Linked DNA regions of Homo sapiens: all the other regions are linked to region 1. Evidence: promoter capture Hi-C in 16 types of primary human blood cells and fetal thymus (Javierre and others, 2016). All regions are on one chromosome and are shown on one strand. The core of a region is centred on a gene start or on the middle of the fragment in contact, and the rest is flanking DNA. Distances in the headings are between cores, read along the strand shown.

What was found. The method cuts DNA at HindIII sites, captures the fragments that hold promoters and counts their contacts. A CHiCAGO score of 5 or more calls a contact.
Region 2: the fragment with the promoter of GLCE here is called in contact with the fragment with the promoter of UACA in region 1 in 1 of 17 cell types (monocytes); the score reaches 6.2 in monocytes.
Region 3: a fragment that was not itself captured here is called in contact with the fragment with the promoter of UACA in region 1 in 1 of 17 cell types (total B cells); the score reaches 5.2 in total B cells.
Region 4: a fragment that was not itself captured here is called in contact with the fragment with the promoter of UACA in region 1 in 2 of 17 cell types (total B cells and naive B cells); the score reaches 8.3 in total B cells.
Region 5: a contact is called between a fragment that was not itself captured here and the fragment with the promoter of UACA in region 1, in 1 of 17 cell types (total B cells). The highest score is 5.1, in total B cells.
Region 6: a fragment that was not itself captured here is called in contact with the fragment with the promoter of UACA in region 1 in 4 of 17 cell types (total B cells, naive B cells, monocytes and 1 more); the score reaches 11.4 in total B cells.
Region 7: a contact is called between a fragment that was not itself captured here and the fragment with the promoter of UACA in region 1, in 5 of 17 cell types (total B cells, naive B cells, fetal thymus and 2 more). The highest score is 7.6, in total B cells.

Annotation. Positions count from the first base shown.
Region 1 is chr15:70,762,258-70,764,892 of GRCh38, forward strand. It overlaps UACA (uveal autoantigen with coiled-coil domains and ankyrin repeats), which reads right to left and starts at 1,301. Exons shown (of 19, transcript NM_018003.4): 1 at 1,073-1,301. The coding sequence starts at 1,150. RefSeq lists a silencer at 1,066-1,475. The HindIII fragment of the contact is 4,014 bases long and covers 1-2,635 here.
Region 2 is chr15:69,159,333-69,161,967 of GRCh38, forward strand. GLCE (glucuronic acid epimerase) reads left to right here and starts at 1,303. Exons shown (of 5, transcript NM_015554.3): 1 at 1,303-1,425. It also overlaps the pseudogene LOC100421574. RefSeq lists an enhancer at 965-1,465 and silencers at 1,163-1,372, 1,573-1,682. The HindIII fragment of the contact is 10,275 bases long and covers 1-2,635 here.
Region 3 is chr15:69,396,102-69,398,736 of GRCh38, forward strand. It overlaps PAQR5 (progestin and adipoQ receptor family member 5), which reads left to right. Exons shown (of 9, transcript NM_017705.4): 7 at 1,367-1,463. KIF23-AS1 (KIF23 and PAQR5 antisense RNA 1) reads right to left here. Exons shown (of 2, transcript NR_132971.1): 2 at 803-1,647. Among named protein-coding and RNA genes, the nearest start is that of KIF23, 17 kb to the right of the region's middle. The HindIII fragment of the contact is 7,709 bases long and covers 1-2,635 here.
Region 4 is chr15:69,420,285-69,422,919 of GRCh38, forward strand. KIF23 (kinesin family member 23) reads left to right here. Exons shown (of 24, transcript NM_001367805.3): 4 at 1,363-1,468; 5 at 1,708-1,844; 6 at 2,042-2,151. Among named protein-coding and RNA genes, the nearest start is that of KIF23-AS1, 6.6 kb to the left of the region's middle. The HindIII fragment of the contact is 8,506 bases long and covers 1-2,635 here.
Region 5 is chr15:69,442,115-69,444,749 of GRCh38, forward strand. All of the region lies in intron 19 of KIF23 (kinesin family member 23), which reads left to right. Among named protein-coding and RNA genes, the nearest start is that of RPLP1, 9.4 kb to the right of the region's middle. The HindIII fragment of the contact is 4,204 bases long and covers 1-2,635 here.
Region 6 is chr15:69,462,512-69,465,146 of GRCh38, forward strand. It overlaps LINC02896 (long intergenic non-protein coding RNA 2896), which reads right to left and starts at 265. Exons shown (of 3, transcript XR_932420.2): 1 at 171-265. RefSeq lists enhancers at 1-283, 219-513, 284-791. The HindIII fragment of the contact is 2,925 bases long and covers 1-2,635 here.
Region 7 is chr15:69,481,590-69,484,224 of GRCh38, forward strand. No RefSeq gene overlaps it. Among named protein-coding and RNA genes, the nearest start is that of LINC02896, 20 kb to the left of the region's middle. The HindIII fragment of the contact is 2,170 bases long and covers 267-2,436 here.

The DNA.
Region 1 (2,635 bases), core at 51-2,550:
TAACTCAAAAAAGCAGAAGCAGATTAATTAGTATTCTGATAAAAAGAATATAATCATTTGGTAAAATCTGCGTTGAATTGTAAAGGTTCATTTTAATTACCCCAACTAGGTAACTGTGCAGTTGGAGCATAACAACTCCTTTACGTTCGACTCTTCCAAGACTTTGTAAGTGGCACTTATTTTAATGATATAGAATTTTGATGATATCGCCATTCTTGTAACGTGACAAATTATCTAAATCACAACATCTGCGGTCAGGCTGTTTCTCAAGATTTCTGTTCTCCTGCCAACTAAAGAGGCCCCGACTACTCCTTGGCGCGCACACTGAGGCCGCGCTGCAGGTCAGCACCGAAAGAGCCCCGCACGGATCCCGCCCCACAGGTGCGATTTACACAACCCACATCACCACCACCCCTCCCAACTTCACCACCTCTAGGGTCACCACCCTGTGGGGTTTTGTCTTTACGACTAAGCCGATTCCCTCTGCCTCGCTGGGGAATCAAACTTCCCAGTGACAACGACAGCGGCCAGCACGGGACGTCCACCAGCCCGGCAGGGCTTGACGCTGTCTCAGACCCGGGGAAGGTCCGGAGTCCGGGCACGGTGGCGCGGGGTGCGCAGCCCTGCCCACCTGCCCTACCTGGTGCGAGCCCCGGCCCCGGGGACTGGGGAGCCAACACGGCCGAGCGGGCGTGGGCAGCAGGGCGAGCGCCGGGAGAGGAGAGCGACGAGGGGGGGTCAACGGAAAGAGCGGAGTAGGGGTGCCAATCGAGGAACTTTGGATTTAGGAGGAGGGGGCCAGAACCGCCCCACTGAGGTTTCTTCCAGAAGTTCGGAGGCTTGGGAGAAAGGGGTGGGGAAGAGACCCGTAGAGGCTCGGGTGCGGCGGCGGGGAGGATCCCCGGGGTCTCTGGGCTGACGGAGTCTCCGGCCTCAGGGAGGAGTCGCCAGGGCCGCCGAAGCCGAACTGGCAGAGGAAAAGCAGAGGAAGGCGGCGCGCGAACTCGCCAGCAAAGGAGGGCTGCGCTGCTCCCGGAGCGGAGCGCCTCGCAGCCCGGACCGCGGGACTCACCGCGCTGGCGGCGGCGGCGCCAGACGACGCGGGGCCGGGCACGTCCTGCCTCCTCAGGCGGGACTTGAGGCTCTTCATGGCTAACTCTTGCCTGGCCCCCGCGCGAACCTTAAAGGCTGCGGAGTGCCAGCGCGCAAGGAGTAGACGGCAGCGGCTGCAGCAGAGGCGGCGCGGGCTGTACCAGCCCCACCTGCCTGCCACCTGCGGGCCCCGGGCAGCAGACGTCGACAGGCCTGAGGCGGGGCTCCCCTCCCGTAGCCAATTGACCCGCTGCCCTGGCGGGGGCGTGGCAAACCGCGACCAATCGGAATGCGGGAATGGGGCGGGACTTCCCTTTTAAACTGAGTAACACCCTTCCTCTCCCAGCTGGAGGAAAAGTTTGGGAACTTTAGCCCGGGAAGGGGCGGAGGAGGTGGGCGGCCAGAGGCGTGGAGATGCGCGCAGGCCGGGCTCCAGGCCACCGGCGCCCGCCCACCCGGAGCTTAAGATCTAGAGAGAGCACGGGGTCCCGCCTTTGCCACCTCTCATCTTCCCGGACTCCCCTCCTCTTTCCACCCACGCGCTCTTTACCAAGTAAAGTTCCTTCCCTTCCGTCTGGTCTTAGAAATGACTCTTGGTTACCTGCACACAGAACAGCTTTCAGGAGCAACTTCTTTTCAGTCTCCTGTTTTACTACCAAATCCTGGTGCCTGGAAACCACCACACGCATCAAAAATTCCAGAAATAAACAGTCTCTAAGAAATAAGGTGCTGATTGTGCAGAAAAACGTACAGTTAAGAAAGACCTTGAAAGACGTTATAGTAAGTTACAGTACAAGTTACGTGCTCGTTTATTTGTTGAGTGAAGAATCCGCCGTATTGGAAGCAAAGGGACGGAATGGGGGCGGGGAGGGAGGAGAAGAGGTGCCATCAATTAAAAATGACTCCCACAGCCAGTGATTTAAGTTGTCAAAAAAAGTTACGCCCTTTTTTCTTCAAAAAGGTTTTTTGTTTTCTGTAGAAACACATTACATGTAAACGTATACGATGAAGTTAAATCATCTTACCTAGAAATCTGGGTTAGTAAAAATTATTTAAGAGGATGAAGAAACAGGAAGGTGCTCAGCACCCAATAATTTGCTGTTCGGGTGACATCTTCAAAAGTCTTCTTTGGAGTCATTTTTCCCCCCAGCAAAACGTTTATCGTAGCATGCATCCATTTGAAAAGACAAACGGTCCACATTTTCTGACTAACAAAGGACTCTTTTTTGTCTGAAAGGTCAGTTGCTCTCTTTAGAGTTTCTTTATAGTAACGCAAGGTTTTCTTCAAATACTGTAAGAAAGTTTTCAGAATTTCTTGGAGAGGCAGCATTCAAAGACTGTGTTAACCCTATACAACAAGTAAATAACAACTAACTACCCAAAAATATTATTAAATTTCATCTTGATTAGATCTTTGGAAGAAAATTTTCTTTGATTCCTCCCCCTTCCTCTAGATCTCCAGTCATTTAGTTCTTGTTGGCTCTTTAAAGTGTCTGTGTATGGTCAGTTACTCTGTTCTCACTGCCACTGCAGAGCCAAAATT
Region 2 (2,635 bases), core at 53-2,552, 1.6 Mb before region 1:
CTGTTCAAAGGATGGGCGAGACTATGTTTGTGGGAGAAAGATTTAGGTTAGAGGAAGAAATTAATAATGGGGAAAGAAAGAATAGCTGAATAAAATCTGGGAATGGCTGGGATCCAGGGCACAGGTGCAAGATTTAACCTTGAGGAGAAAGGGCACTTCTTGCTGTGGGTGAGGGAGTGAAGAGGGTAAGATGAATGAAGGTACAGGATAGGCATAATAATGAAGAGCCTGGATTTAAGGGTGAAGCCACTGGCTCACATTATAGAGGAAAGGCTAGGAAAGCCGAATTTTCTGGGGCCAGGTCCAGATTTAATATATTTAAGTATAACAGTCTTAATTCATTCCTTTCACCTTATTCAGTGCCCTGGGTGTGCCAAATACTACTGGGCACTGGGGTCTACAAAGGTACGACTTTTCATGTAATGTTGGAATTTGTTATGTTGGTAACTCGAGATTTGCATATATTTAACAGTCTTAATTCATTCCTTTCACATTATTCAGTGCCCTGGGTGTGCCAAATACTACTGGGCACTGGGGTCTATAAAGGTACGACTTTTCATTAATTTTGGAATTTGTTATGTTGGTAACTCGAGATTTGCTTTTCATTCTTCTGGAAGGCTGTATGTAGAAATAAATACAGTCATCAGACGAGTTCTTTGTCAGACCAGATGTCCTGGGTTGGGGTTTGGAAAACATGGGCATCTTAACAATGGTGCCCTGTTTGAGGTGGAGAGGGAGGAGAGGCCCAAATCGGGGAAAGGAATTAAATGGAGGTTTAGACGCGGGTAACCGGAGTGGGTGGGCCTTCAACCTGGAAGATGGGAATCCCCAGCGCACTTCGGGCAGCGCTGTAACCAAGGGTAACCGCACCTCGGTTTACACCGGTGTGAAGACCAGCCTCTTCCCCAAACCAGGTGTATCTACGGCGGCCTAGCAGGACCACACACAAGCCAAGCACGTCACGTCATTCGAGCTACCTTACCGCGAAAGTCCACTGCCTCCTACTACTTCTGGTCACTACTACCTTTGCTCACAGTTTATTAAGGAGGAGCGGAGAAGAAGAGGGGCGGAGAAGGGGCGGGGAGAATCACCTTTCCTTTTTTACAATTGGTCGTAGTAGACTCCGAGTCCTGCCGCCCGTCCTGCAGCCGACAGGCTGCCAGGACTGTCACTCGAGGAGCTGCCGCTACCGCCCCCCGCCGTGGCCCCGCCCCTTGCCGTGGCTGGGATCTCGCGGGAAGAGCTGCGGGCACGGCGGTGGCTCGGTCTCCCGGCTGCGCGCGGAGCGGGAGGGCTCTCCTCACACAAGCGCTTCCTTGCCGAGAGGCTGGAGCTGCGGCACCGCAGGCCTGAGCCACCCCTTCTCTGCTGTCTCCTTCTCTTCCTCAGGGCTCCCGTGTCTGCTCGCCCTCCGACGCTGCTCAGGTTAGAAAGCCCGGAGCGCGTCTCCGCTGAGGAGCGGTCGGGGAGCGGGGACACGGAGCAGCCGGAGCAGGCGGGCTCCTGACGGGGGCGGCTCTGGGGGCTGCGCGGCGCTGCCTGGTGGGCGCGAGGCTTGGCGGGGTTTGGGAGTCCGGGGGGCGAGGAGGCGGTGCAGTGGGATCCGGGCGCGGGCGCCCAAGGGCGGTGTAGCGGGTGCCGGAGCTCCCGAGGTGAGGGGGCAATGTATTAGGGATCCTGGGGGCTCTTCCGGCTTGGGGTAGGGGTGGGTGGCGGCACACGGGGTCCTAGGTCTTTGACGTCGAGGGAGATTTATCAGGGTCTTGAGCTTCTTGGAGGTGGTGTAGCGGGGTTCCGGGACAAGGGGTCTTTTTACCCGGGTCCCGAGCTCTTTGGGGCAGAGAATGCAGTTTAGCAAGGTTTACACCGGTGTAAACCTTGTCTCTGGAGGCAGATCATCGGGGTCTTGGGGGTTCTTTGAGCGGGCGTGGGCGTCCGTTTCGCATTGCTGGGATGAAGAAGCAGTGTGTCCGGGTTCTGGGGAGAGGGGTCTGTTCATCGGTGTCTCCGGGTGAGAGAGCGATGTATCCGTTCCGCTGGGGCCGGGGCCGCCTTGGGGGGTTGTTGGGGGCTGAGGGTGTGTAGCGGCGACCAGCGTCTGGCCGGGGTTTCTGCTTTGCCCGGAGCGGGGCGGTAACTTGGCATGGTCTCCAGTCTTTTGGGGGCGACGGGGCGAGTTAGCTGGCCCCCGGGCAGTCTCTCGGGGTGGGCGCGGCTCCGCAGGCGCTGGGTCCGCTGAGGGCGGGAGAGGGCTTTGGTGCTACCGCGCAGGCTGGGCAGCATCCTGAAACGTTTTTGTTCAGGTCTCCTTCTCTCTGGATGAGATTTACTCAATGCTTAGTTGGAGGATTGATCGGTGTTGTTGCCTAGTTGAAGAAGCAGTGCGTTTGTTCTGCAGTTTTCTTTTCTCTGCCCCGGGATCCCTGTGGGGGCGCGCTGGTCTCGCTGGAGCTCCGGGAGCTAGAGTGGCAGCACCTTAGGTGGGCGTTTGGTCTGCAGGTTCTTTAGGAGGCCGGTGTCCGCAGGTTGAGCGTGGATACAGCTCCTGAGCAACTGGAATCTGTTGAGGGTGGGGAAGACTGATTTTGGCTTGCTTTCCTAGGTGGTGGTCTGCTTTGCTCATCCTGCATGATTA
Region 3 (2,635 bases), core at 68-2,567, 1.4 Mb before region 1:
GCACCTGCCTGAGGAGGGTTCCCTAACTGCCCAATGTGGAAGTCCCTGCATACTCCATGCTGAGAGATACAGGCAGCAGCTGGGTTTATGGTCAGGTGGCTTTACTGGCTCATACGAGATATGAACAGCCTGGCCAGGTGAAATCGGTCTGGGCTCAGAGGAAACAGCAGATGGCATTTGAAGGAGAAGGAACAGGCTTGTGGACTGGGACCGAGGTTCTTGGGAGCAGAGATAGGAGCCACAGCAGGACACAGACCCCATCCCTCCAGTGTGATAGGGGGCAGAACTGTCAGCAAAGGCTGAAAGGGCCCAGATGCATGCATTGCCTTTACAGACTGCATCAGAACAGCCATCCCAAGAGCCTCAGCGTGTGGCTGTGCATCCACTGTGCTGGGTTCCTTACCCTGCAGCCCTGTGGGCCCCAAGGGAGGACACAGCCCTCCACAGTACACCTCAGCATTGATGTGGGGACTTTACCTGTCCCTACTACCTGGCCTTGGTGGCCCAGCCAGGGCCCATGAGCACTTCCTTACCCAGGCCTCAGTTCAGGGCTGTGATTTTGTGCAGAGACCCTCCCTGCCCCTCCCCATGTCCTCCCAGTGTGCAGCCTGCTGTCTGTGCTACCCAGTTCCCCATACCCTGAGCTGCTGCCCCAGGCTGGGCCCAAGTCAGCTGAGGCCCTGTCATGTTCTGTCTGGGGGGACCTGCCTCTCTTCTCAACAATCAGCATCACTTGTTTTAATGTTGCTGTCAGCTGTCTTTGGATTGGAGGTTGGGTGAGGGTGGCAATGAAGAAGAGAAGGAAAGACTTCACGTTTATTTAGTTTTCCCAAGCCAAGTATCCCTGTGTGTGGTATAAATATTCCAGAAAGCTCTCCAAGGGTCAAACACCTACTTGAACCCAGGTCTCCTGCATGATAATACCTGGGCTCCAACTAGATGGGTGCATCTCAGCCTCTGCAGAGTGTGCCCCCCAAGAGTCTGTGGCAGTGGATCCCCCGATTCCCCCTACCCGTTCCCTGTCCCTGTAGCAACTAGAGTTTTAAAAGGTTCTTTGGCAGTTACATAACTTGGCCCTTGAAGGGTTTCTGCCCAGCGCCTCCTTTCTGGCTTAGTCTGGACACCACTGCTTCCCATGGTCAGGAGATGGTGTCCCTGGAGATCTTTTTGCATCTGAAGTTTTGTCACTTCCATTGGGGTGGGAGGAATGGACGAGGCTGGTGGAGAAGCTGCTGGCCACAGGAGCTTGTAGAAAAATGCTTGTCCTCTGTTGATGACCAGGCCCTCGGTGTGCATGCATGTGCGTATGCAATTTGCTGAGACTCTTTTCATTCCATTTCCTCCCCACTTTCCTTCCCTGATTTAGGTTTCTTGAAATCCAGAAGCCCAGACTCTGTAAGGTGATTCGTGTCCTCGCCTTTGCTTATCCGTACACCTGGGACTCCCTCCCCATCTTCTACAGGGTAAGGACTGGCTGCATCTCCTCTCTGCCTGTTGGCAACACCAGGAAGTCAGTTGTTTTCCTGAGCTTCTGGGGGGTCACAGCACTGCAATGGGAACCGCAGAACAAAACAGGAGTCGAGACCCAGGTGAAGGGGGCCAGCCCCTCCACACCTGTGGGTATTTCTCGTCAGGTGGGACGAGAGACTGAGAAAATAAATAAGAAGATTTTTCTTAGTACAGATCAAAATGGAGTTTCTTATGTCTTCCTTTTTCTACATAGACACAGTAACAGTCTGATATATCTTTCTTTCCCCCACACCCAGGTGCTGCCTTGGTGGCACTTGAGGAGTGGTTAGGAGATGACATAAGCACAGAGGCCCTGACTGACAATATGACTGGGGGCTCGGGAACGTCATAGAACAGGCAGCCTGGGGCTGAGTGGAGTGAGCAGGAGAGCGAGCTCTGCAGGCAGGTCTCCAATACTTGCTGTCAGTCCCTGGGCCAGTTCTCTATGCCTCGATTTCCTTCATCTGTAAGCTGGGCCTGATAACACCTCATGGGCTGTGGGGAGGATTACACGGGGAACATGTCAAGTGCTGACTGGTAGCAAGAGTTCGGGAATGCATTGTTCCATCATCAAGTAGTATACTGTTAGTATTGAAGGAAAAGGCATGAATGAGGGTCTTAAAGGAGCGATGGGAAAGAGATGGAGAGCATAAAGGAAGAGAGTGTAGGAGGGACAACAAGTAGGACTAGAAGGGGAAAGTCCACGCACTTTCAAACCATACGGGCTTGAGTTCAAATTCTGGCCCCACTGCTCACTGGCTATGTGACCTCAGGCAGGACACACAACTCTCTAAGCCTCAGATTAGTTTCCTCATCTGTACATAAGGGTACTAGGCCTCCTTTGTAGGGGAAAACAATGGATCTGATAGGCTCTGCGGTGCCTGTCCAGTACCCGGTGAGTGAAGCTCCCTCCTAGAGGCAGCGTCCTGTGGGCTTGAAGAATAAAGCCCAGATGGCAGGGCTGAGGGACAAGGGGAGGGGCTGAGCTCCACCCAGCAGCTGGGGCATTGAGCACGTTCTCTGTGCTCTGCCTCTGTGGGTCTGGGAGAGCGCCAAAGATGGGGCTGCAGCCCGTTCCCCTCACTCCTTCCTCAAGGGCGCAGACCACACACAGGAAACCAAGAGC
Region 4 (2,635 bases), core at 37-2,536, 1.3 Mb before region 1:
AAAACATTGCACTGATGATGGCTTTGATACTAATTAACTCCATGGGCTCAGAGAAGTTTCACCTTCGGGCCTCAGTTTTCTTTACCTTGAAAGGAGGGAGTCATTCATGAGGACTGTGAGGTCATCTATCTTCTCAGTATTAGCCTATGTGTATCCTTTCAGTTCCAAGATTCTTTGTTCTTTTTGAACTCTAAAGCTGATTTTTACAGGATATTTTATTAATTGTATTTAGAGAGCCTTGATAATTGAAGTATTCTTGCTTTCTTAAAGGTCACAATTTATTTAAAATGTATTTCATGTAAGAACTCAGAGATGAGATAATATTTACAGTTTACTTCTGGTTTTAAACTATAGTACATCAAAACGTGGTATTATGCTGCTATGCCATTTTATTTTATATGTCTTTTTTCTTTTTCTTTTTTGAGACAGGGTCTCACTTGTTGCCCAGGCTGGTGTGCAATGGTGTGACCACAGCTCACTGTTTTTTGGTGAGGTTTTTTTGTTGTTTTTACTTTTAAAATTTTTTATTAGATGAGCTTGCCCAGGCTGGTCTCTTAACTCATGGCCTCAAGTGATCCTCCTGCCTCAGCCTTCCAAAGTGGGATTATAAGTGTGAGCCACTATGCCCATGCTTTGCTATTTTAAATGACACCTTTATAAAGAAAAACTAGGAAACAGTAAAGTTGTGTATGACATAATGCTTGTAGATTTCCACAAATCTGTGACTATGAATCGTTACAATACCTTTTGATCTCTGTCACTTAATTAAAACAAAATCAGCCTTAGATTAGAAGCATTAGTAGACTTAAGACTTTTCTACATTTTTGGCCAGGTGTGGTGGCTCACGCCTGTAATCCCAGCACTTTGGAAGGCTGAGGTGGGTGGATCACCTAAGATCAGGAGTTTGACACCAGCCTAACATGGTGAAACCCGTCTCTACTAAAAATATAAAAATTAGCCAGGTGTGGTGGCACGTGCCTGTAATTCCAGCTACTTGGGAGGCTGAGGCAGGGGAATCGCTTGAACCCAGGAGGCAGAGGTTGCAGTGAGCCGAGATTGTGTCATTGCACTCCAGCCTGGGCAACAAGAGCAAAACTCTGTCTCAAAAAAAAAGAGTTTTCTACATTTTCTTTAGTAGTTGTGACTGAAAACGTTTACCAGTTTATAATTGGTATGATATAGGTATGTCATGACTTTTTAGTAACTAAATAACTAAGGGTTCCAACTGTAAAAAGACCATTTATATTTTTTCTTTGCATGCTTAGATCTTAAATGTCATAAACACCTTAAGTTTAAGGAGATGTATTTTTAGCCTAGATAATAGTGGAATTCTATTTAGTGCATTTTTTTCTCTCTCCACAGACTCAGTATTCATTTAAACAAGTATTTGGCACTCACACCACCCAGAAGGAACTCTTTGATGTTGTGGCTAATCCCTTGGTCAATGACCTCATTCATGGCAAAAATGGTATGATATGACTCTTGGAGTTTTGTTAGATTTTCCTTTTTCTCCTCTTCTGATAAAACTTTTTTGATATTTATATATTTGATTTATGTTTGGTGTTGAATCCATATTTAATTTGTTAGGGTGGTGCTAAACTTGCCTTTTTTGAGCTGGCTAATTGTTAGTGTTTTCTAATGCAGTGAAGAAATACTCTAAGTGGAGAACTTCTAAGATATAACTCATTGTGACTTGCTACACTGTAGGTCTTCTTTTTACATATGGTGTGACGGGAAGTGGAAAAACTCACACAATGACTGGTTCTCCAGGGGAAGGAGGGCTGCTTCCTCGTTGTTTGGACATGATCTTTAACAGTATAGGGTCATTTCAAGCTAAACGATATGTAAGTATGATTCTTTTGTGTTGTGACTATCTTACTGGACTAAGACACCTATGGATACAGTAGTAGTAAAGAAGAACCAAAGCACTGGATTCATTTTGAAACCTTAACTGTTCCTTAGTTTTTAAACATATTTCTTACTATTTAAGTTAAATTCTAAAAAACGTGGTGTGATTTTTTTTTTTTTGCCCCCACTTCAGGTTTTCAAATCTAATGATAGGAATAGTATGGATATACAGTGTGAGGTTGATGCCTTATTAGAACGTCAGAAAAGAGAAGCTATGCCCAATCCAAAGACTTCTTCTAGCAAGTAAGTAATTATATTTGTCTGCAGCACTGGCCTAGGGGCACAGGATTCTTTCCTGTGGTTTGCCCAGACATGAGGAATGGTGAACATTAAATAGAGAAGTTGACTTTTGTGAGATTAAAGTTAAGGAATGTTCTTAAGTTCTTTGCTCAGATGTTTTCTCTTTGGCTTTGAGCACATTTTGTTTCAATCACTGTTTTAAGAGGGTGCCACTCTGGATGGGGAGAGGGTATAAAAGCCATTGTTGTGTGTTCGGGAGGACGTGGGAATACTGTTGGCAAACCATGAGTATGAATAAAGCTGCTTTGTGCATTTCTGCTTGTAATTGCAGATATTTATTTTATCTGTTAGTTTCCCCTTGGGATCAGTTACTTTTTTTTTTTTTTGAGACAGAGTCTCACTTTGCTGCCCAGGGTGGAGTGCAGTGGCATGATCTCGGCTCACTGCAACCTCTGCCTTCCAGGTTCAAACGATCCTCCTGCCTCAG
Region 5 (2,635 bases), core at 97-2,596, 1.3 Mb before region 1:
TGTCTTTCATCTCTTTTAATATAAAATAGTCTCACCCTGTCCCCCTACTTTTTTTATTTTTATGACATTGACTATTTTCATTGAAGAGTTTAGGCCAGTTATTTTAAAATTACTGATTTCCATGCCCAATAAATTGCTTTTAATCTTGAGGCATTTATCTCAATTTACATTTGCCTCATTCAAGGGTATTTAAATAAATTCACTTTCATATTTTTCTTCTTAAAGATTAAGGTAAAGTTTCTTTTGAATCTGAATAAATGGACCAAGTTAATGTTTGCGAATTTTATATTTAGTAAAATCTTCACAAAGCTCTCTTAGAATATTTCTTCTAAATCTTACAGTAAACATTTACTTTAGATTTTCTTATATAAGTCAGGGTATAGATGAATGTTCATTTATGTGGCCTGAATTCCTGATTATTAAGGGATGGTGATGAATCCCAAGTTATTTACCAGGGAAACAGATGATTCTAAAGTCTCTTAAGTTCTTTACTTTGCAGATTTTTCCTTAAACATTTTTAGACAGCAAATTAGGTAAATGGTCATTCTGACCAACTCTAGTCAGTCATTTTATGAAAGTTTATAGGCTGAAAACTATTCAAGGCTTGCGTATGCCTTGCAAACCGTAATGAGATATCTAATTTGGCTATGAGATATTTAAGGGAATTTACTAGAGATTCTTACGTGAAATCAAAATCTCTTTAGAAGTGCAGCAGAAAAGTTACTGTAAGGTTAGTATCTGTGCATCTAAGTTTGTTGGTCAAAAATTATGTCAGGTGGACTGAATTTATACTTCAGTGAGGAAAAAATTTAAATATTTGTTTCATAAATGCTAGTAGATTGTATGGATTATCATCTTTCTGAAGTGTGTTTCATCATATGCTTATTGTTAAATGTTTGAAGAAAACCTTTGTTTTTGCTAAATGGTAGATGATAAGGACCAGACTTTCTTTCGTGTTCAACATTAAATAAATCATTGTAGGAATGGAAAGTTCCTGTTTGTCTTGAGGCTCAGCATCTTTAGTGGCAAACTGTATTGCCCATGTCTTAGAGCTGTCACTAGTGCTGCATTTGTTTCTTGTTAACTATATAGCGAAAATGATTCAGTTCCTCAGATGTGCATTTTGAAATTGAGGTCTTCATACTTGACTAGCTTTGACAGATTTGGCCTGTGATAGACTTTTTCCATTTGCTTTCAGTTTTGTTTTTTGGGTTTTTTTTTTTTTTTTTTTTTTTTTTTTTTGAGATGAGGTCTTGATCTGTTGCCCAGGCTGGAGTGCAGTGGTGTCATCTAGGCTCACTGCAGCCTTGACCTTCCAGGCTCAAGTGATCGTTCTACCTCAGCCTCCTGAGTAGCTGGGACCACAGGCATGTGCTATCGCACCTGGCTAATTTTTAAATTTTTTGTAAAGATGGGGTCTTCTTACATTGCCTAAGCTGGTCTCGGGTGATCCTTCTCCCACCTCAGCCTCACAAATGTTGGGATAACAGGTATGAGCCACTGCACCCAGCCCTGCTTTCAGTTTTACAAACAGGAGATGTTCATAAAATTCTAAAGATAATTCATTGCTTCAAACTATAACTATGGCATATATGTGACATATTATTTTCTTAGGCTGAATGTGCTTAATTTAGCATTCCCAGGTTTACATGACATTTGACTGGAAGCAACTTGTTTGTTTTTGAGGCAGGGTCTCATTCTATTGCCCAGGCTGGAGTGCAGTGGTGCGATCTTGGCTCACTGCAATTTCCACCTCCTGGGCTCAAGCAATCCTCCCACCTCAACCTCCTGAGTAGCTGGGACTACAGGCACGTGTCACCAAGCCCAGCTAATATATATATATATATTTTTGTTTGTTTTGTTTTGTTTTGTTTTTGTTGAGTCTGGGTTTCACCATGTTGCCTAGGCTGAACTTGAACTTCTGAGTTCAAGTGATTCCTCCACCTCGGCCTTCCAAAGTGCTGATTACAGGCATGTACCACCATGCCTGGCCTAGCAACTAGTCTTTTATTGTGTGATAGAGACTGATTTGACACTGTATTATTTATTTGTTTCTTGGAACCTGTATGAAATGTTTGGGGGAAAAATTAGTTGGTATATTGTAGCCATTACTGTATTTGAACTTTTCATGAAGTTCTATTATGAGATTTTAAAATCTTAACTGAAAGCACTCAGAAGTATTTCACATTTCTTTAATCATTTTATTCATATGGTTCTTATTATACCTATGTTCTTAGGATTGTTTTCTGTTTTGTTTAGAAGCCTAGAAAATGTGTAGGGCTTTCATTGATCTTATTGAAGATTTTAACAGAGTTGTGGACATAATAGATTACCTCTCAATAGCAGGGATAAATATTGGTTTTTGATCAAGAATATGAAATGAGTTGTTTGTCCTGAACCACCCCCAAGCAGGAAAGACTTGCAGCATTACCAGAATTTTTTCTTTTATCCTTTATTGAAAGGGAAACTCCCAGATAGAATGTGTAACATACAAGTTGGTGTTAAAGATGTTTGTTGGTTTTGTGTTTAAATGCAAAGATCATGTTTAAATTACTTGAATAAAATATTTAGCTTTGGAAAGGTTTGCTATGATACTGTCATCAACTAATGTAGCCAAACCTGCTGCACTTCTAAT
Region 6 (2,635 bases), core at 39-2,538, 1.3 Mb before region 1:
GGCGCAATCTTGGCTCACTGCAACCTCCGCCTGCCGGGTACAAGCGAGTCTCCTGTCTCAGCCTCCCAAGTAGCTCGGATTATAGGCATGAGCCACTACGCCTGGCTAATTTAGTAGAGACGTAGTTTCACCATGTTGGTCAGGCTGGTCGCGAACTTTGATCCACCCACCTTGCCCTCCCAAAGTGCTGGGATTACAGGCGTGCGCCACAGCGCCCGGCCGACAGTCGAGCTTTTAGAGCCCGCGGCGCGCCCACCAACGCAGGGCCGGGAGGAAAAGGCGGGCCGAGAGGCGGGGCTGGAGGCCGAGTGTGGCCGAGGGAAGCCGAACTTTCCAGTTTCGCTGAGGCCTGTTAACCGCTGGGGGCGCCTTCGGGACAGCTGGCTTCTGCGCATGCTCTTGACCCTCCGTCCCCCGGAGGAATGTCTTAAGTCAGGAGCTGATTAGTGGTTGAAGGCAGCTGATCTGTTTCGAATCCTGTGTGTCCGGAGAGGCCAACGCTTTCATTAGCCAGCAGGAATGGGCTGGGGCGCGTTTGTAGTTGGGAATCCTGAGCCCGGGCTGTTGCTTGGAGGACTCGGGAGCAGCAGTGGATTTCGGCGTTACCAGGAGAGGTCTCGAGCACCAGATCCCTCTTCCTTCACTTCCCAGTAGTGGGTTCTAGCCGTTCCCAGCGCCTTCATTTCCAGAAGGCGATTTTACCCAGAGAAAGGAGAGGGAAGATTTGCTCTACCTTTGGCTTCTTATCAAATAGCTAAATCACGTGGGAAGCTGGTAAACAAAAACAAAAATGAATGAAACAAACAACTAAACAGCTTGCCGGGCCCCTCCAAGGCCCACCGAACCAGCCCCTCGAGGCAGCCACCGGGAATTTTCATAAGCTCTTCTGATGAGCGGGAGGATAAGTCAGTCAGGGCTGGAAACTCCCGGATCAGAGCAAACCCAGCTCCTCAGCACCTGAGGAGAAGACGCGTAGTCAATATGGTTTGAAATAATGTGTAAATGAATATATGAATGAAGAGCTGTCTTCAAACGTGGAAGGAAAAGTTAACAGTTTGATAAAAAGCCATATTGACAAACCTGGGAAAATGGGCTGTTGGTTGATTTGGGTGTAAATTCCTATAACGTTTTTCTTCTTTCTTTTCTTCTTTACTCCTCCTCTCCCTCCTCCTCCCCTACCCCTCCTTTCCCCTCCTCCTCCTCTTTCTCTTTCTTCTTCTCTTCTTTTTTTTTGAGACAGGATCTCACTGTCGCCCAGGATGGAGTGCAGTGGCATGATCTCTGCTCACTGCAACCTTGAACTCTGGGGCTCAAGCGATCCTCCCGAGTAGCCGGGATTACAGGCACATGTCACCACGCCAGGCTACTTTTTTTTTTTTTTTTTTTGGTCTTTTCTAGAGATAGGGTTTCACCATGTTGCCCAGGGTGGTCTTGAACTCCTAGGCTCAAGTGATCCTCCATCCTTGGCCTCCCAAAGTGCTGGGATTACAGGCGAGAGCCTCCACACCCAGCCCCTTAATGTTTCATTCTACTATTTTATTAAAGACTGAAAACCACAGTTAATAATGTGGGGATTTTGAATTTTTTAAATTTACTTTTTTTTTGAGACAGGGTCTTGCTTTGTCACCCAGGCTGGAGTGCAGTGGTGTGATCAAGGCTCACTGCAGCCTCGACCTCCTTGGGGCTCAAGCAACCTTCCTGCCCCAGTCTCCAAGTAGCTGGATTACAGGTGGTGAGCCACTGTGCCATCACTACAAGTTCCAATTTTTTTTTTTAATTTTTAAATGTTTTCTTCAGCCTGTTTGAGTTTGAACTACTACAGTTTTGTTTTGTTTTTTTTTTTTTTTTTTTTTTTTTTTGAGATGGAGTCTTGCTCTGTCGCCTAGGCTGGAGTGGAGCGGTGCGATCTCAACTCACTGCAAGCTCCGCCTCCCGGGTTCACGCCATTCTCCTGCCTCAGCCTCCCGAGTAGCTGGGACTACAGGCGCCCGCCACCACGCCCTGCTAATTTTTTGTATTTTTAGGAGAAACAGGGTTTCACCATGTTAGCCAGGATGGTCTTGATCTCCTGACCTCGTGATCTGCCCGCCTCGGCTTCTCAAAGTGCTGGGATTATAGGCGTGAGCCACCGAGCCCGGCCAGAACTACTACAATTTTTTTAGGGTCATTTGGTCCTCTCTCTCAAAAGTGCGCTTACCCTCTATCCAGGAATTTCATTTGTAGGAACCTATGCTATGTACAATTTCACTGAAGTATTGCTTGTATTAGAAAAAAAGTATGGATGATAGGCAGGTTGAATAAATGTTAATGTTTTCATGTAGCTATGTATAGGAATGCCGCTATGGAAAGACATCCAGGACACCTTGTTAAGTGAAAAAAGGTAAGTTGCCACCAGTATGCATAACATGACCCTATTTGAGTAAAAAAATAAAAAAAATGTGCATATGTTTTATAGTATTAAAAAACTTCTGGGAGGATTCAAGAGTAATTATAGTGGTTACTTCTGAGGACAGGGATTGGATGGGGTGGAAGAAATATTTTTACTTTCCAGTTTATCCTTTTTATATTGCTTGAATTTTTAAAGACCATGAACATACATTACTTTTCTAAATTAAAAACACTGGTTTTGATTTTT
Region 7 (2,635 bases), core at 102-2,601, 1.3 Mb before region 1:
GTTGGGAAGACTGCATGACATCTCCTGTTTAATGTCAGTAATCTATCCCCCACAATGAGATGTTCTGTGTGAAAATGCTTCTGGGAACATATTTCCTTTCCTTTCATCTCTTTTTGTTTATAGTCTTTCCATTATTCTTAAAGGGAAAAAAGTTATATTGTTACTGGTTAACCCAGCCCCTTAACCAATTTCCTAAATTCTAACTAAAATACAGTAAAATGCTTATATTTGTAACCAACAGTCATACTAGGTTGTAAGATGCTTAAAGCTTTGCTTCTTGGTCACCACATAATTAATATAGACATTAACAAGCAGTTGCTCTGTAAACAGGAACCTGGCCTCTCTTAGTACCAGCAACAGCCAAGCGGCACCACCCACTTCATTGTCACCGTCATGTTTTTCTTTCCTTCTTTCTTTCTTTCTTTCCTTTTCTTTCTTTCTTTCTTTCTTTCCTTTCTTTCTTTCTTTCTCTCTCTTTCTTTCTTTCCTTTTTTTTTTTTTTTTTTTTTTTTTTGAGATGGAGTCTTGCTCTGTCACCCAGGCTGGAGTGCAGTGGCTCAGTCTCAGCTCACTGCAACCTCTGCCTCCTGGGTTCAAGTGATTCTCATGCCTTAGCCTCCTGAGTAGCTGGGATCACAGGTGTGTGTCACCATGCCCAGCTTATTTTTGTATTTTTAGTAGAGACAGAATTTTGCCATTTTGGCCAGGCTGGTCCCAAACTCCTGGCCCAAAGTGATCTGCCCACCTTGACCTCCCAAAGTGCTAGAATTACAAGCACAAGCCACCACGCCTAGCCACCACTTTCATGTTTTTCAAAACATAACTTCTTTCAGACAGTCTACTAATTGTATTTAGAATGCACCTTAATTCTCTTCCTGTACATTATTCCTTTAAAAAAAGTTATATTGAATTTTGGAGACATATACACACATTTTTCCCCATGTAAATACCGGCCAACAAGCCCTGGAGTGAAGATACATATGTTCTGTTAAGGAGTGGTTGTGCAGGGAGAATGTTACCTGGGGTGGAGTTCTGAGGGTAGACCTGAGCTTTGTTTCTCCGAGCACAGGAGGTAGTATGATTTTCTAGTCCTGTTGCAGCTTGAAGGACTTTGGAGAATGTCTCATTCTTTTTCAGTTCACAGGGAAAGGGCAAAGAGGCCTGGAGATTTCTCCAGGGTCATACAGTGCCCATGGTAGAACTGAGCTGGGAACCCAGGCACCTAGCATCCAGATGGACGGCAGCTCTGGGCTTTACGCCAGGATCTCAGGCTGGCAAATTGGAATACAGGCCACCAGACAGGTCTGGTGGATCAGTCACTTTGCCTTAAGCAAAGCAACCTCCAAACATCAAGTAACTAATGTATCGTGTTGTCCCTGCTAGTGGAAGGTTAGTGACTCTTGGTAAACACACCTACTGGCTATTTATAGAACTCAGTCTAGGGACCAGACTGGGCCTTTCAACACAGTCAAGTCAGGATGTGGGAGCCAAGCAGAGAGGCTGGGAGGTGGGGCCCAATGGTCTGCAAAGCCTGCGCATCTGCTGCTGGGATGGGGAGTTCAGGGCACTCCTGGCTTCCAAGAAAGCCAACCCCACAGTCCCAAGGTGCTTCTTCCCAGATGGCATTGCAGATACATCTTGATGAGGGTATCCTAGCCTGGTTTCCCCCGAGCAGGGCCCAAATCAGAGGCTTTTGCAGGATGAGTTCTTTGAGTACATTCCTAGGAAGCTGGGAAGGGGGCAACTGGTCCAAGGAGGCATGACGGACTTGCTTCTGCTCAATATGGTGGGGCCTTATAAGAAGCCTCCTGAAAATGAGTCCCAGAACTGCCTGCCTGGGAAAGAAGGGATGCCATTTATTCATCCCCCCTTTGATCCGGGTAACCCATGAAGTGTTTATGCTACATTGCATTTGGGTGAGCACCAGGTGGGTTCGGGGCCACTCAGGCAGGAAAGCCTGGGGCAGATGAAAGAGGGCAGGGAGGAGTCAGAGGTGAGACTGGGACAGCTTGCACCTTCACAAAACAAGCAAAGCTGCGTGGAGCTGGTAGCTTCGGGGCTGACAGGGATGAGAAAGAAGGACAAGGGGGTCTGCAGTGGTGTCAAGAGGGCATTGGTACAAGTGGCTGGGGGAGATGAAACTAGGAGCAGATTAGCAGTTGGTGGGAGTCCAAATTCCAGAACACGTGCAATGTGTCTCTTGCCCTGTGCGCAGTGCAAAGGGAAAGGTATAATATATCACAATCAAAAGACAGAAGATTTCAATCTCCCCAGAAAGTTCTCTGTGTCCTGTTTTACCCGCCCTCCATCTGCTTTTGATTCTGATAGCAAGAGTGTTATTTGGTCCCTCTTCCCATTCTTTTTTCTCTCCCTCTCCCTCCATCTCCTTCCATCATTCTCTCTGTTCCTTCCGCTGTGCCCCTTTCTACTCTCCTAAGCTTGCTGGGAGCCTGGCTCACCTGCTGAACTACACTGGATGCTCTTTGAGAGTAGAAGATGCACCGTGTTAGCTTTTCCATCTGCTCCCATCCCCTGTGAACATGTATCTCAGATGGCAGCCAGTGGCCCCAGCCCCTGAAAATCTGAAAGGGCGTGACTGAAGTCCTCATTTCATGCCTGAGGGAACCCAAGGCCC